Regions from separate parts of the Homo sapiens genome. Here region 1 is linked to region 2. Evidence: promoter capture Hi-C in 16 types of primary human blood cells and fetal thymus (Javierre and others, 2016). All regions are on one chromosome and are shown on one strand. The core of a region is centred on a gene start or on the middle of the fragment in contact, and the rest is flanking DNA. Distances in the headings are between cores, read along the strand shown.

Region 1 (3,372 bases), core at 612-3,111, 170 kb before region 2:
AAACAAAACAAAAAACTAATTGAATATTTACAACACATTTGAAAATGTCGATTCTATTACTATCCAAGTATAGTGAGGCCAATAGACCAGGAAATGACTGCCACTAACAAGTTAGTGTTTTACTCCCAGTTCCAAGAGGAGGGCGAATATGCTAGGTACACTATTCAAGGATGCAGGGGAAAGCACCAAGGTCAGTCAGGAGGAAGAAGAGACAAAAGGAACAGCTTTTATTATGGTCTTCATGGGAAGAAATGGGCAAGGTGGGGTAAGCCAGCTGAGCATGTTTAGGATTAGATAGTTTGAATAATTTCCTTGGGCTCTGGCCTATAGTGGTAGTCCCTAGTTGTTTGGTACCTGGCCCTAGGTGACTTAGGGCAAGGGAAGAGTGTCCAGGACTGCAGGAGCCTGATAAAAGGAAGTGGGTGGGGGTATGGACTCAGATTAGTTGGTTTGCACATCAAGGATGTACTCACAGGCAGGTTGTTTGCCATCCCTAAGAATTAGCCAAGTCTGGGAGAGGCAGTCCCTTCTCAGGTATACAAGGCTGAGGATATCAAAGCATCATCAAGTACAGAAAAATTTAAAAACATGATTAATACCCACCCTATTTAAAAACATGATTAATACCCACCCTCATGAGCTAGGAATTATTATTATTCAAACTTTCAGATGAGCATGGAGTCAGAGAAAGGCTCCATAACTTTCCCAAAATAACAGAAGTAGTAAGTGGTCAAGCTGGTATTCAAACCAGATAATATGGCTTCAAGACTCAGTTCTTAACTGTCATATTATACTTTACATATACGTAGTAAGAGACTACCAAATAAAACAAAAAACCTAGATAATTTTTAAAAAACCTAGATAATTCAAATACACATAGAATGAAACAACCAAGAGCAGAATTAATAAAGCCATGAATATAAATGTATTTAGTTTAGTGATTAAAATCTTGCTGAGAGGCGAATGGGTCATTAGATGAGAGAACTTTTCTTTTTTATTTTATAAAGATGACTTCATAGATGATTTTTTTTTTTTAGGATGAGAAGAAAGATACTTTCTAGACAATAAAGACTATTTATATTTACACCTTCTGAATACATACTACATCGTATTGTATCATAGCTTTTTTTTAACATGGATTTTCCACATTACACAGTGGTCATGTATGGCAGAGACTATTTTATTTACCTCAGTATCTCTAATGCCTGACATATAATAGGCATTCTAGGAAATTGTGTGAAATATTGAAACCCTGATGGTAGCTATGTTAGATGGATAGATAGATAACATAATGATTGATAGGCCAGCAGACAGAGAGATATGATGTGCAGTTTTTGAAGACAGTGGCCTGGCCTGGATTGCTCTGAACACTGTGTTCTAAATGCACATTTCTTCCTTATGTAATAGCTCAGAAAGAATCAGGAGTGAAATAGGCACTTAGAGAGGCTGAGACTGGCTCCTGATTGCACTTTGGTTATTCAGCAACTCAACATACTCATCAGATCATTGTTCCTATGGTCTTTATTCATTAGTTATTCAACTGGGAGCTAACAGAGTGGGCCACCTGTGCTGAGGCCAAGCTCAATGAACTTGGAAAGATGATGATGGGAGACAGTTAAATATTTAAAGGCAATAAAAGAAGTAAGCATTAGTATTGTAATAAAATGCCATTAAACTTTTTAAAAATCGAATCAGCACATTTCTGTGTAGTGTTGGTGTTCATTTTACATCCCTTGATCTGTAGGATGAGATTTGTTTCTCGTGGGAGAACACTTCACCAAGCTTACTAGAGTTAATTGCATTTAGCTATTGTAAGTTGTAAAATGAATGCACCTTGAATATTAGACTGTTCATACCACAGTCTTTTGCAGAAACTGAAAAGCAAAAGGGCTTATTCCCACAAGTTTGTTTCAATTTTAATTGCATTTTGAAGAAACCCAGAAGCTTGGAGCCAAGATTTGAAGATATTAGAATGTAGGTCATTATACTAGTGCACAAATTTTATCTCTAGGACTATACAACAGTGACTTACAAAAAAAATGATTTAAATGAATTTTTATTGTTTGGCATGTCAGCAAAAATATTTCAGAGAATTACTATGCTAGGTAAGAAGATGGATTAGTCTTATTCATCACATTCTGTGGATTATTTCTTTTTGGTGCCTACTTGTGTGCAGATGGTTTAAAAAGCATGATTCATTAATAATTGCTAGAGCTATTAATTGAAAATGTAGATTTTGAACTCATTTCCTTCCTATTACCCTGTGGAAGGCTAACATTTCCAGTTTCTGGCTTTATATCAAGTCAACCCAATTTGACTGACTACCATTTTTTAAAAATATAAATATCTATGGAGTAAAAAGGGAAAAAAATCAAAGTTTCTTTTTCTCTGATCTATATTAAATCAAACTGAACATGGCCTATTTTTAATTACTTATTTGTTTTTAATATTTTTTTTCTTTTTCTTATGTAGTCTCATGTGAGTGTCACAGCAAAGACAGAGGGTGTGAATTTTGCAGAGTTCCCTGTTTACTGGTCAACATTTTTAGCATGTAGCTAAAAATAATAATTTTGCAAGGTTATTTATTACTTGTTTACATTATTTGAACTTTTATATTTCTTTTTTGAGAGAACTTCAGTAAGCAGGGCACAATATATTGCTAAATACATTTTTTAAAGGATTTTCAAAAACCTTTCTATTGTATAAGAGTAATTTAATATAAAAATAATTTTTTCATTATAGATTTCTTCTTTTTTATTTCAGTAGGTTTTAGGGGAACAGGTGGTGTTTGGTTACATGCATAAGTTCTTTAACAGTGATTTCCGAGATTTTGACGCACCCATCACTCGAGCAGTGTACCCTATACCCAGTATGTAGTCTTTTATACTTTACCCCACCCTTCCCCGCCAAGTTCCCAGAGTCCATTGTATAATTCTTATGACTTTACCTCCTCATAGCATCCAGGTTGCTGCAAATGCCATTGTTTCCTTCCTTTTAATGGCTGAGTAGTATTCCATGGGTATATAAATCACATTTCCTTTATCCACTCATTGATTGATGGGAATTTGGTCTGGTTCCATATTTTTGCAATTGTGAATTGTGCTGCTATAAACATACATGTGCAAGTGTCTTTTTCATATAATGACGTCTTTTCCTCTGGGTAGATACCTAGTAGTGGGATCACTGGATCAAAAGGTAGTTCTACTTTTAATTTTTTAAGGAATCTTCAGACAGTTTACCATAGTGGTTGTACTAGTTTACATTCCCACCAACATTGTAAAAATGTACGTTTTTCACCAGATCTATGCCAACATCTATTTTTTTTTTTTATCATGGTCATTCTTTTAGGAGTAACGTGGTATCTCATTGTGG
Region 2 (3,282 bases), core at 333-2,832:
GGAACCCTGTCCAAAGAAATAGTTTTCTTTATCTCCTATGGTAGGAATTCTTCTGAAATAGACAAGACCCAGGGCTCTCCTCTCAGGCAACCACTATTTTGAAATGTTTTTGGGGGGACTATTATTGCTACTCAATGTAAAATATTAAGTGAGATGTCAATATTTTTCAACATATCATTAGGAATTACAGTTTGGAGGCCTTAAGTTCTATTTTTGAAGCCCTTTTAGCCAGTACTGACTGGAAGCCCTGTTGAAATCAGAAGTCTTCATTTCATATAGGGCACACTCTATTTGGAGTGAATGTGATGAAATGTTTCCATGCAAATTCCTACAAGCACTTATGCCTTTATCTTTGTCCTCATAAGCCACATTATACTACCTGTTGTGTATTTTAAAACCCTGTATGATTTTTAAAACTTATCTTTCAATTAATATGTATAGATTTTCTGTCAATAATTTCTTATTCTAATTATGTGGTGGCTAACTGAATGAAACATTTATGGTTATGATATAGAATATTCTAAATACAACTACAGACAATATGGATCATAGATAAAGTAAATTATTGTTTTATGGCTCCAGTGGTTCTTCCTGGTAATTAATAAAAATAAACAGTTATTAAATATATACAGAAAAACAGCAATCTATCAAGCTTATAGAACAATTAAGAATATATAATAATCTTTAAATCAATAAATTAAAAGGTAAACATTTAATATAAAATGAATATATTAAAGGATAAAGAAGTAGCATATTATGGAACATATAGAGATTATTTTATTTTTTGAAGGTTCAACCTCTTTTAAATGGTTAGTATTGGTGTTCTTTTCTCTATGAAAACAGATTTTAGAGAAAAATGATAGTGTATTTCACAAAGCCAAACACCTCTATATTGTTATCACTCCCTATATGCATGGCCTCTCTAAAGCTGTTAAATAAAAAACTAAAGCACAAGAATGATAGTTCCAATTTCACTATACATTTATGTTTAAAAAATACTGGACACACTGGGCATTTAAATAGATGACATACAGCCAGGAAACTCATTAGACTAGCTTTAAGTATAATAAAAAATATTTTTTCTGAATACAATTAATCATAAGCATCTACAAAAACACAAGACCATTGATGCCTAGTATGTACCATAAATCACCATTTCCAGACAGGCTCTATTTTCTTTGAAAGATAAAGAAATAGTAAGCAGTTTACACATCAAACGATGCCTTTGGTTCCTGTAATTTACATTTAAACAACACTGGGTTAAAAATAGCAGCATGAAGATGATTTTAAAGTAAGGAAAATGACCTGGTAGCTAGGTTCTATGGTGCAGATAATGAAATGTTTTGTCAGCTTACCTGATAAAACAGAGCCTTATGAATTACAGCATAACAAAGCCCAGCATCCAAGATGGTTAGGGTATAACGTGTCTTCCTCTGCAGCTGTTCAGCTTTTTTTTTTTTTTTTTTTTTTGACCACAGAGGTTTACAAATTAGTTACAATTTTTTTTCTTTCTTTCTCTGTGGATAAGAAAACAAAGAGACCTTTCCAGAATCCTCTCTGCTTATGCCTCCGCTTCCTGTTCTGAGATTCACTCTATGGTACCCAACATATATCAGAAAACAGCTTTGAGGAAAAAAAAAAAGAAAGAAAAAAAGGCCGATCGCACTCAAAGTGGTACCGCCATCTACTGGCGGACACACACAAAATTGAGCCAAAGAAAAAACATTCCCATTATCCTCTGTCACAGGGAGGAAAGTAAACCTGCATGAAGCATGGGTAGTCATGAAAGTGCCCCAAGATGACAGTAGAGAGGTGATGTGAGCTAAAATTTCCCAACACACTAAAAAAATGTAACTTATCTACTACATATAAATATGTATGAGACCTTTTACATATTCAGTTATTTGCATCTCACTAATTTTTTTAAAAAATTTTATCACTTTGTTGTTTTGCATGATTGTTTCACACATAAACTACTAAAATTAAAAGATATATAAATTACTGTTTGAAAAATAGGTTTTAAGTTTACATTACCCTTTACGTGTAGAGTTTTGCGAAAGCTCCCTTGTGGCCTGCTCTAGTCTTTTGAAAACCTTTTCTCTTCCTGGGATGAATTATTTTCAAGGTGAGGAATTTGACTCCTTAGAGAACAGTGTAAACACATACTCACTGATAGTATTTTTGTGTTGCTTTCTGGTAAAACATTTGCAAGAAATATCTAAATGTAGAAAAAGATTCTATACATCAGTGAACCTAGCTAATATTATTTATTAGGATATTGAAGCACACAATACATAAAGAAAATAAAAATAATCCATCAGTTATTAAGATATTTCTCAATCCAGATGTATGTTATTGTTTCATCTGACCTTTCATATCTACTTTAGAGCAAACAACTATGATTTTATTACAGTTTATCATCAATTAAATAAATACATTCATATTGACAAACCAACTGTATGGATGGACAAAAATGATGTCAAGTATTATATTAGACTTGAAAAGACACAGAGAGAAACACACAGTGCCTGCCATAAAGGAGCTCATACAAAGAAGAAAAACAAATATAGCTGATACCATATTTCCCAGCCATGTGTTCAAGAACTGTTAATTACATACTTCGTTTTCAATTGTGGCCCCCATTTTGTCTAATGGCAGAAAAATAAATCTAGTCAGTTCCAGGTAAACTAAATTACTTGAGGCTTTTCCCAATGATTTTGGGTTTGCATTCAACCAATACATGATTTTCCTCTTCTATCTCTCCTTCTCATGGAGACTGATCTAAGTTCAGGATTGTGTACATATATAGAGAAAGCAGAGTATGATCCCGTTCCCCCTTTCTCCACATGGGCATCCACTGAGGCCAGGAGTCCTGCATGATCCATGACCATCATTATCCCTCATATCTACTAACGTACCCACAGGCCCACTGGGCCCCGGGAATAGCATCCCTCCAGCTTTGCATGGCAGCATCCCCTCTTTGTCACTTCTTCCTCTAAGGAAACTTTTGTTCCTGTCCTTTAGGAGGAGAGAAGAAAAAGCAGCATGTTCCCAGGGTCACTCTTGGCTGTAATTGGCTGACTTAAGCCTTCCTCCCTGCCCCAGGCGCCTCACACAGCCATCTCTGTTCTGCTGTTTGTAAACCATGGGATGTAATGCACTCTGCAGGCTTCAGGCAAGCGAGGCACAATCTCTGCCACACTAGAATAGTGTAAATAGATGGAAACTTCTCATCTTTTCATCTTTTTAGCTAATCCTAGATTGGCAAACTATGTAAGGAGC

Evidence for each region. Contacts are between HindIII fragments. The CHiCAGO score rates a contact against its expected background, and 5 or more counts as called.
Region 1: a contact is called between a fragment that was not itself captured here and the fragment with the promoter of SCN3A in region 2, in 2 of 17 cell types (total B cells and erythroblasts). The highest score is 6.9, in total B cells.

The regions. Positions count from the first base shown.
Region 1 is chr2:165,034,569-165,037,940 of GRCh38, forward strand. No RefSeq gene overlaps it. Among named protein-coding and RNA genes, the nearest start is that of SLC38A11, 81 kb to the left of the region's middle. The HindIII fragment of the contact is 162 bases long and covers 1,781-1,942 here.
Region 2 is chr2:165,202,468-165,205,749 of GRCh38, forward strand. SCN3A (sodium voltage-gated channel alpha subunit 3) reads right to left here and starts at 1,583. Exons shown (of 28, transcript NM_006922.4): 1 at 1,356-1,583. The HindIII fragment of the contact is 4,908 bases long and covers 651-3,282 here.